2 separate regions of the Homo sapiens genome follow, and region 1 is linked to region 2. The links are contacts of gene promoters, found by promoter capture Hi-C in human tissues and cell types (Jung and others, 2019). All regions are on one chromosome and are shown on one strand. Each heading gives the region's core, a stretch centred on a gene start or on the middle of the fragment in contact. The rest is flanking DNA. Distances are from core to core; before and after follow the strand shown. Region 1 has its middle 6.1 kb from the start of STIM1-AS1. Region 2 holds the start of ART5 (ADP-ribosyltransferase 5).

What was found. Contacts are between HindIII fragments. The study calls those that stand out against the background at their distance.
Region 1: a contact is called between a fragment that was not itself captured here and the fragment with the promoter of ART5 in region 2, in 1 of the 25 tissues and cell types used here (aorta).

What each region holds. Positions count from the first base shown.
Region 1 is chr11:3,847,089-3,851,958 of GRCh38, forward strand. No RefSeq gene overlaps it. Among named protein-coding and RNA genes, the nearest start is that of STIM1-AS1, 6.1 kb to the right of the region's middle. The HindIII fragment of the contact is 4,728 bases long and covers 1-3,732 here.
Region 2 is chr11:3,639,702-3,644,563 of GRCh38, forward strand. ART5 (ADP-ribosyltransferase 5) reads right to left here and starts at 2,291. Exons shown (of 4, transcript NM_053017.5): 1 at 2,105-2,291; 2 at 1-670. The coding sequence starts at 2,161. RefSeq lists an enhancer at 1,998-2,711 and a silencer at 2,851-2,900. The HindIII fragment of the contact is 5,679 bases long and covers 939-4,862 here.

The DNA.
Region 1 (4,870 bases), core at 119-2,618, 210 kb after region 2:
TTTATTTTTTTTCTTTTGTTTTGGAGATGGAGTCATGCTCTGTCGCCTAGGCTGGAGTGCAGTGGCGCAGTCTCGACTCACTGCAACCTCCACCTCCCAGGTTCAAGCCATTCTCCTGCCTCAGCCTCCCGAGTAGCTGGGACTACAGACGAGCACCACCACGACGGCTAATTTTTGTATTTTTAGTAGAGATGGGGTTTCACCATGTTGGCCAGGCTGGTCTTGAACTCTTGACCTCAAGTGATCTGCCTGCCTCAGCCTCCCAAAGTGCTGGGATTACAGGCGTGAGCCACCACATCTGGCCAATCTTTTGTTCTTGACTCTCTCAAGGAACTAAATGGATGAAGGGTGTGTGGACAATGGCCATGCCCTATTTTCCAAGAGGGTCCCTTCTCCCAGGCAGGCAGAACAATAGTTGTCCCGTTAGCCTCCAGGACAGCTTTGCATCTTTGACATTTTCTAAGCCCAGTGGTAGTACCCACATCATCTGGCATAATGCCCCTCTGGGAAAGTTCTCCTTCCTCAGTCCTGGTATTCTAAGAGCAACCCAACTATAGCTGCCCAGTTGATTCGGGATTCCCTGGGGAAATTTTCCCCAATTCTCATCTTTGCCATTTACTTGCTGTGTGATCCTGGAGAAGTTGCTGAATAATAATTTAGGAAAACAACTTAGATATGTTTTACATATGCTTTACACGTATTAACTCAATAAATATAACAAGTCTATAAGGCAGGTAATATTATTTCAATTTTACAGATAAGAATACTCACAGATAGGCCAGGTGAGGTGGCTCACGCCTGTAATCCCAGCATTTTGGGAGGCCGAGGTGGGTGGATCACCTGAGGTCAGGAGTTCAAGATCAGCCTGACCAGTATGGTGAAATCTTGTTTCTACTAAAACAAAAAGTACAAAAATTAGCCGGGCATGGTGGTGTGCACCTGTAATTCCAGCTACTCGGAGGCTGAGGCAGGAGAATTACTTGAACCAGGGAGGTGGAGGTTGCAGTGAGCCAAGATCATGCAATTTCACTTCAGCCTGGGTGATAGAGCAAGACTCTGTCAATAGCAAAAGCAAAAACAAAAACAACACAAAACAAAACAAAAAACCTCACAGATAGCAAAATTGAACGTGTCAGTTTTAATTTCCTTTGTAAGATGAATCTAAATTGTGTTACACCTCAGGATTGCTATGGATATTCATTATATGAGATAACATGTAAGCTCCAGGAGGGCAAGAAGTTTTGCTTGTTTTACTTAGTGCTATATTCCTAGTGCCTAGAACAGTGCCTGGTATGAAAATACTTTGCTCAGTAAATATTGGTTGAATGAATGATTGAATGTAGCACGTTTAGCATAATATCTAGCAGACAATAGTATCTTCCAAAACCACAGCTATTATTTAAACTTGATCTGTCTTGCCTGCTCACCTGGTCATCTAATCAATCACCAAATATTTCGCAAATCTGAACACTTTTCTATTCCCGTCATTATTGTCCAAATTAGACTTCAGGTCTTGTCCAAGGTCACACAGCGGTGAGCTGGGTTATCAGTACAGGTCTGTCAGACCATGTCACTTGTTTCCAGCTTCTACCTTTTCCAATACTTTCTCAGCACTATTGCCAGAATAATTTCTGCAAATCACAGTTACCTGATCTTGGTGTAATTCTTTAACGGCTCTGAAATTCCTTGCAGAATAAGAGCCAACATTTTTGAGCACATTACTCTACGCGAAGCACTGTGCCAATTGTTTTACACTTATGAACTCATCTAAGCCTTACAGGATCCTACTTTTTTCAGATGGAGGAATCGGAGGTCAGAGAGATTGAGTAACTGGCCCAGAGTCACACAGCATTGCTTGGATGTGAATCTAGGCAGTCTGATCCTAGAACCCCACTTACTCACCCACACACCCCAATCTGTGAGTCTGCACAGCCTGACTGCTTTAGACTGTTACTTGTCCTTCCTCTGTGCTCCCTCACCTATTCCTGTACCAATCCCTCTCGAGACATATTGACATGTACTAATTATCTCTACACACACACACACACACACACACACACACACACACACACTCACCCCATTTTTTTCCCCGTAAAAATGGACCTCTTTGAGAGTAGGAACTAAGTTGTTACAAATAGGTGCTCAGTAGGTGTTAAATGAATGAATGAACATTGCAAGCAAGATTCTAGAACTCACTCTGAATGAGGAGATGATTCTCTGTGTGAAACTAGCCTAGGAAAAGCTGTTGCTAGAAGCTAAGGTCTCTCCTCACTCTCTACCCACCCAGACCTTGGGCAATTTCTCAGCGATAGCTATACTTTCCATTTTTGGACACCAGGGAGCGCTACTAATAATGCAACCCAAACTAGGGGATTCCTAAATTTTTCTGAGCAGATTTTGGACTCTCAATTATTATTTCTAGCAAAGTCTCCCTCATTTTCTGAATGAAAGCTATTGGTAACCAGAAACTCTGCGGTGTGAAGAAAGGACAGTTATGCTGCTGTACAGAACACACATCATTCATTTATTCACTTAGCGAAACGTTTATTGAGTACCAGCTATGTAATGGGCAACCTAGACTGTGAAAATATAAAGATGGATAAAATGCAGCCCTTGATGAGCTCAGAGGCTAATGTAGAAGATATACGCTTATTAAATAATCATAATTCAGCTGCGCATGGTGGCATGTGCCTGTAGACGCAGCTACTCGGGAGACTGAGGTGGGAGGATCTCTCGAGTCCAGGAATTCAATGCTGCAGTGAACTATAATTGCACCACTGCACTTTAGCCTGGGCAACAGAGTGAGAACCTGTCTCTAAAAATAAATAAATAAATAAATAAATAAAAAAGAATATTCCTATTCAAAAAATAAAACTCACTTAAGTCCAGGAGGTTAAGGCTGTAGTAAGCCATGATCATACTACTGCACTCCAGCCTGAGTAACAGAGAAAGACCCTGTCTCAAAAAAAAAAAAAAAAATCATAATCAAATTACATAAGTACTCTAAGGTATAGAAGAAGACTGAAGAGACAGGGCAAGTCAGGCAAGGTGTTAAAGTGGGGTGGAGCTTTTGAGTTTTGCTAAAAATCATAACCCTTGATTTATGGTAAGGTAACATCACTGGTCAGGGCATGGATGCTTTTATTTCATTTGAGCTGAGACTTGAAGGATGGGGAGGGAATCCCAAAGAAGAAAGCAAGCTTGGCTCTCACCTACCACTTTATCTCCTGAGCCTCAGTTTCTTCATCTTTAAAATGAGTAAAGTAGTCCCCTCTTATCCATGGAGAATGTATTCCAAGACCCCAGTGGATGCGTGAAACTGCATATAGTATCAAACTCTATATATATTGTTTTCCTATACACATACCTATGATAAAGCTTAATTTATAAATTGTACACAGTAAGAGATGAACAAAAATAACTAATAATAAAATAGATCAATTGTGGTCTCTCTCTCTCCTCTCTCTGTCAAAATATCTTATTGTACCATACTCACCCCCCAGGTTTTTTTTTTTTTTTTTTTTGAGATGGCTCGCTCTGTCACCAAGGCTGGAATGCAGTGGTGCAATCTTGGCTCTCTGCAACCTCTGCCTTCTGGGTTCAAGCGATTCTCCTGCCTCAGCCTCCCGAGTAGCTGGGATTACAGGCACGTGCCACCACACCCTGCTGATTTTTATATTTTTAGTAGAGACCAGGTTTCACCATGTTGGCCAGGCTGGTCTTGAACACCTGACCTCAGGTGATCTGCCCTCCTCGGCATCCCAAAGTGCTGGGATTACAGGTGTGAGCCACTGCACCCGAACCCCATAGTCACCTATTTTTGGACAGAAGTTGACCTCAGGTCAACATGGGGACCACCGTGTAGCCCCTGTTTTATCTAGCAGAGCTTCTGTGAGGAAGAGATGAGATAATACATGTGAAAACTCTTGCAAACAGTGGAATAGAGGCATAAGAATTAGTTAATCCAATTTGATTTAGCCAACATCTTCAGAACATCTAAGCAAGGCCCTAAGATTAATGCAAGGGAGATATACTGCATAGGTATAAAAAGAGAGATGGGGAGAAAGCTCTCTGTTTCCTCCTGAAGCTTACAATATGTTGAGGGGGTCCTTTCTTTTTTTTTTTTTTTAAACAGATTTTTGCTCTATCACCTGGGCTGGAGTGCAGTGGCAATCACAGCTCACTGCAGCCTCGACCTCCTGGGCTCAAGCCATCCTCCTGGCTCAGCCCCCTGAGTAGCTGGGACTACGGGGACACACCACCATGCCAAGTTAATGTTTGTATTTTTTTGTAGAGACAGAGTCTCACTATGTTGCCTAGGCTGGTCTCAAACTCCTGGGCTCTAGTGATCCTCCCATCTCAGCCTCCCAAAGTGCTAGGATTTTAGGTGTGAGCCCTAGTACATACCTGGGTTCTTGCAAGGGTCACACTTTTAGAAGGACGAAGCATAGGGGCTTATAGAGATGAGGGTCACAGATTCTGATCAGGTTTCAGAATTTTTTTATTTTGTAGAATATTAAAGCTGCACTGGGTCAATAATCTGGTAGCTGACCAGTTTATAGTTGGGGAGACTGAAATTCAGAGGGGAACTGACTTTTCTAGTGTCACATCGTGATCTTGGAGGCAGAGAAGACACCAGAAGTTTCTTCCTGTTGCCCAGGCTGTGGCTTTGGCTCCCAGGTACCATTTATTTGTTATTTTATTTTATTTTTGAGATGGAGTCTCACTTTGTCACCCACGCTGGAGTCCGGTGGCGTGATCTTGGCTCACTGCAACCTCTGCCTCCCAGATTCAAGTGATTCTCCTGCCTCAGCCTCCTGAGTAACTGGGGTTACAGGCACACGCCACCACGCCCAGCTAATTTTTGTAT
Region 2 (4,862 bases), core at 1,041-3,540:
AGCTCTGGGCTCCATCCTGAGAGAATCTGGTAACCAAAAAGACTTCATGGGGGGGAATCAGCACCTCGCGCTCCTTGGGAAAGACAGAGAAGGCCTGTATAGGGGCCCCAAAGCAAGTTGTTAGAGAGAAGAGGGTGGCATTACCAAATCTGTGGGCCACTGCCTTATCCAGGGAGCTGGAGGCAAACTGGCCCAAGCGGACAGAGTCTCCCAGCCTCTTGGGTTCAAAGCGAAGGCTGCCCACACCTCGGAACACCACCTCCCCAGGTCCCCTGCTGCAGCCCCCACTGCCTCGCAGCAGCTGCAGGGCCCGGATCAGGTAGAAATGCAGGGCCTTGAAGGGAAAGTGCCTCATGTAGAGCTCCCGGGAGCCTCCGCCCGTCCGCACGGCCTGATTCAACTCCCAGTACAAGGTGTTCGATGAGTTGGTGTAGACCATAATGGCTATTCCATTCTGGGCTTTGAAGCCAGGGGGCAAGGTAAGCCCTCGACGCTTGTCCTCCCAGGTCTCCTGGGCTGCCTCCCAGGATTCCCGCAGCAGGGCATGGTGGGCCATTTCCTCCTTTAGCAGGGGGGCTGCCTTCTCCTCCATCTCCTCTGCACAACCCACATAGGTATCGTCAAAGGTGTCTGGAGCCAGGCCCAGGGGCAGGATGGGAACAGCCTGGGCCTGTGGAGCAAAAGAGGTGCCACACCGAAAAGAGCATAAGTTCAGAGCACTGGACATGGGTCCTGGGGGCAAACCCATCCAGAAACACAGAATCTCATTTCTATCCCTAAATATCAGGTATATGCAATTTGGCAAGGGCCCAATAAGAGGCTTAAATAACACAGGCACTGGAGTCAGTCAGACATGGACTGAAATCTTTTTTTTTTTTTTTTTTTTTTGATGGAGTCTTGCTCTGTTGCCCAGGCTGGAGTGCAGTGGTGAGATCTCGGCTCACTGCAAGCGCCACCTCCCAGGTTGGAGTGATTCTCCCACCTCAGCCTCCCAACTAACTGGGATTACCTGTGCATGCCACCATGCCTGGCTAATTTGTTTTTGTGTTTGTTTCTTTGAGACGAAGTCTCGCTCTGTTGCCCAGGCCGGAGTACAATGGCACGATCTTGGCTCACTGCAACCTCTGCCTCCCGGGTTCAAGCAATTCTCCTCTCTCAGCCTCCCAAGTAGCTAGGATTACAGGTGCGCAATACCACGCCCAGCTAATTTTTTGTATTTTTAGTAGAGACAGGGTTTCACCATGTTGGTCAGGCTGGTCTCGAACTCCTGACCTCAAGTGATCCACCAGCCTCAGCCTCCCAAAGTGCTGGGATTACAGGAGTGAGCCACCGCGCGCAGGCTGAAATCTTGACTTTACCACCTATTAGCTGTGAGGCCTTGGGCAAGTGTCATAACTTTTCTGGACTTGAGGATACTTCCAACCTCACAGTTATTATGAAGACAGCATAAAGAGCATTACTTCTGTACAACCTAAAAGGGGTCATCCTGTCATTAGAAAGGTTCTTGCAGTCGGTGGGAGGTGGGACTAGATGACTATCAAGCACTTTTCCGGCTGTAAGATCTGGCAGGCAGGTGATGTGCAAATATTACACACAGCCAGTGTCCAGCTGCCTAACCCCCAGCCCCATTCTCCTCGGGCTCTCTTTCCCTCTCATCCAGCAGGAAGCCCTTGCAGGTAGGTGCTCAGCCACCACACCAAATCACTGTGAGCTCTGAGACGCCTGAGTCCTCCCCTGCTCTGTACCCACATTTGGGGTAGGGGTGGTGGGGAGGCCAAGCCTTGGTTGGGACGGGCTGCCAGGACTGCAGCACACAGGTAACCCAAGGAGGCTTTGCCGGGCTGTGCCTGCGCTGGGAGATGAGAGGTGGGGAGGAGAACGTTGGAGGCATCCAGAGAGGGATGGAGATGGGGGTTCTAGGAGACAGAATGGGAACTTGGGGCTCCCTGCAGAGATGGAGGTTCCTGAGAGGAAGAGAGTTAAGAGTGGAATCCTAGGGAAGAGTCCCTGGGAGAGGGATGTGAGGAGTCAGCCCCGGGTCCACTTCCTCAGGGTCTGTCCCTTAATGTCCCCCTTGGGGCTAGGAGATGGTTCCTGGAGTTACCTGCCAGGTGTGGAGGCCGAGGCTGCCGAGGGCGATCATCAAAGCCGCCAGCGCCATCCCTGGAGGAGACGTGAGGGCCAGGGGTCCGGGTGAGGGCGGGACCAGAGGTGCTGGAGTCCTGGTTTCGAGGGGCTGGAGGCAGATCTGGACCCTGTCTCCAGGCGCACGGGATCCCGGGTCCAGGATTAGGGCCCCGGCGGGGCGTGGGCGGGGCCTGGGAGTTTATTGCCCGCCCCCCGCCCCAAGTCTCCGCCCCCGACTCCCCACACCCCTTCCTCAGAGCCTCCAGTCTGGGGACCTTTCCGAGACTGTAAAGGCGGGGCCGCAGTTTGGCTCCGCCTGAGAGGGGAGGGCCGGGGGCGGAGGACCCACTTGAAGGCTGCGGAAGCCGCCAGCGGGAGGGAGCGCCGAGGGCTCTGGCGGGCGCTGCGCTGTCCCCGGAGGAGTCCGGAGTCCGGCTGAAAGCAAAGGTTCTCGAGGCTAACTGTAGCCCCCGCGCTGGTAACCCGACACCCCTTTCCCAGCGCCGCACGCGGGGCCGGGAGCGGGCGCGCCAGGGCAGGGACTGAGGAGCAATTCCCTTTCTCAAGGCCTGCGGGGTCTTTCTGCGGGACCCTCTTTGGCTGTGAGTGATGGGGAGGAAACTTGTGAGACTCGGCCTCTCCCTCAGGCGGGCCCTGACCCGGTCGGCCCCTGGTCCCCGGCCCACCAGGCCAGGGGCCCCGCGGGGGTCCCGCCGGCCGAGAGGTCGCCCCCGGAGCACTGCGATTTGCATACAGTTTGCATTTGGCCCACACCCTGGGCCACGTGCTCCAGCATCTGAGCAGCGCCCACTCCCTGCCTGCTCTGGGCCCTCTCCCCATTCGCCTTCAGTGGGGTTGGGCCAGAGACAGAGCCCTTGGTCGCAGATCCACAGGGTCCGGTCTCGCCCCTCCCCCAGACCGCTCTCGTGGCCGCTCAGACTCAGGTGACCCATGTTTGTAAACACTGGCCTTTCCCCCACCTCCTCTGGGCTTATCTATAAATAACCTGGCTCTGAGTTTTGGATGCCCCGTCAGAGGTCATGGGAGAAGGGGCCAGCGGAGGAATTGGTAACTCAGGGAAGAGCTTCCTAGCAGCCAGAGCCAGGAGGAGGTGGGGTTGTCACCCCTCCTTCCCCCAGCGGCCGGAGGGTCGCCGAAAGCTAGGATTTGAGAAATGCTGCCTGCTGGGGCTGAGGTGGGCACGAAAGATTAGAGCTACCCAAAGGAATCCATCCTGGTCTGGCTCATTAATTTTCCCCATCCCTGTCCCCCCATCCCCTCAGAGTGTCAGCCAAATAAAAAGTTTCCTCCACCTAGAATCCTGCTATCTCCCAGAATCCTTTCTGTAGACCAAACGGGAAGACATACGGTGGGTCCAGGCTTGGAGGAGGGTGGGGAGGGAGGTGCTTCTGAGTGCTTGTTAGAAAAACAGCTCCAGGGCAGGGCGCAGTGGCTCCCGCCTGTAATCCCAGCACTTTGGGAGGCTGAAGTGGGAGGATCACGAGGTCAGGAGTTCGGGACCAGCCTGGCCAACAAAGATTAGCCGGGCGTGGTGGCAGGGGCCTGTAATCCCAGCTACTTGGGTGGCTGAGGCAGGAGAATCGCCTGAAACCGGAAGGTGGAGATTGCAGTGAGCTGAGATGGAGCCACTGCACTCCAGCCTGGGCAAAAGGGCGAAACTCCATCTCAAAAAAAAAAAAAAAGAAAAAAGAAAGAAAGAAAGAAAAACAGCTCCAGGACAAGTTCTTTTGCCCCCTTCTATGAGTCTAGCCATCCCAAAGCCCTCCCAGATTCTAAAATAAGGAATCATCCTACCGTTTCCCATCATGGTGAAAAACAGCATTTGCCTATATATCCTGCCTGCCCACTCTCTGGAGGAAGTTGAGTGTTTGCAGTTGCTTGAAAAGATACCACCTGAGGACAGCTTGGCCTGCTGGGATGACCCGAGACCAGATGTATTGGAATCACTGCTTTGTCCCTCTCCACCCTCTGGCTTTGGGGGATTGCTTCTCCCATCCCAGGACCTGGAACCCAAAATAAGGCCCCAAGAGATGGATTCAAATCTAGTCATTGGGGGCCGGGTGCGGTGGCTCACACCTGTAATCCCAGCACTTTGGGAGGCCGAGGCAGGCGGATCACGAGGTCAAGAGATCGAGACCATCCTGGCCAACATGGTGAAACCCCATCTCTACTAAAAATACAAAAATTAGCTGGGCGTGGTGGCAGGCGCCTGTAGTCCCAGCTATTCAGGAGGCTGAGGCAGGAGAATCGCTTGAACCCGAGAGGCAGAGGTTACAGTGAGCCAAGATTGCGCCACTGCACTCCAGCCTGGTGACAGAGCGAGACTCCATCTAAAAAAAAAAACTAGTCATTGGGCAGGGATCCTAAGTATAGCATTAAGAAGTCCTGCAAGATCACTGGTAAGTCAGAGCTGGAACTGGGACTCAGAATACAGCCTCCTTAGTTCGAATCTCTCCTGGCACCTTAGCTAAGTCTCAGTGTTTGTGTGAAAGGTACAAAATCTAAGGAGACGCTCTCTGAGGTCGGGGTGCTGAAGCTTCCTCCTCTCTTCCTCCTCCTTGGCTGACCAGAGTACAGGACCACAGCCAGTGAGGAGGCAGTTGTCCCAGCCTGGATCCCCAGTGCTTCAGTCCACCTCCTCTCTGGCTTCAGGGATTCCCTTTTTTGTGGGAAATGTAGCAGGAAGAGCCTCAGACAAAACCCCTCAGATGCTG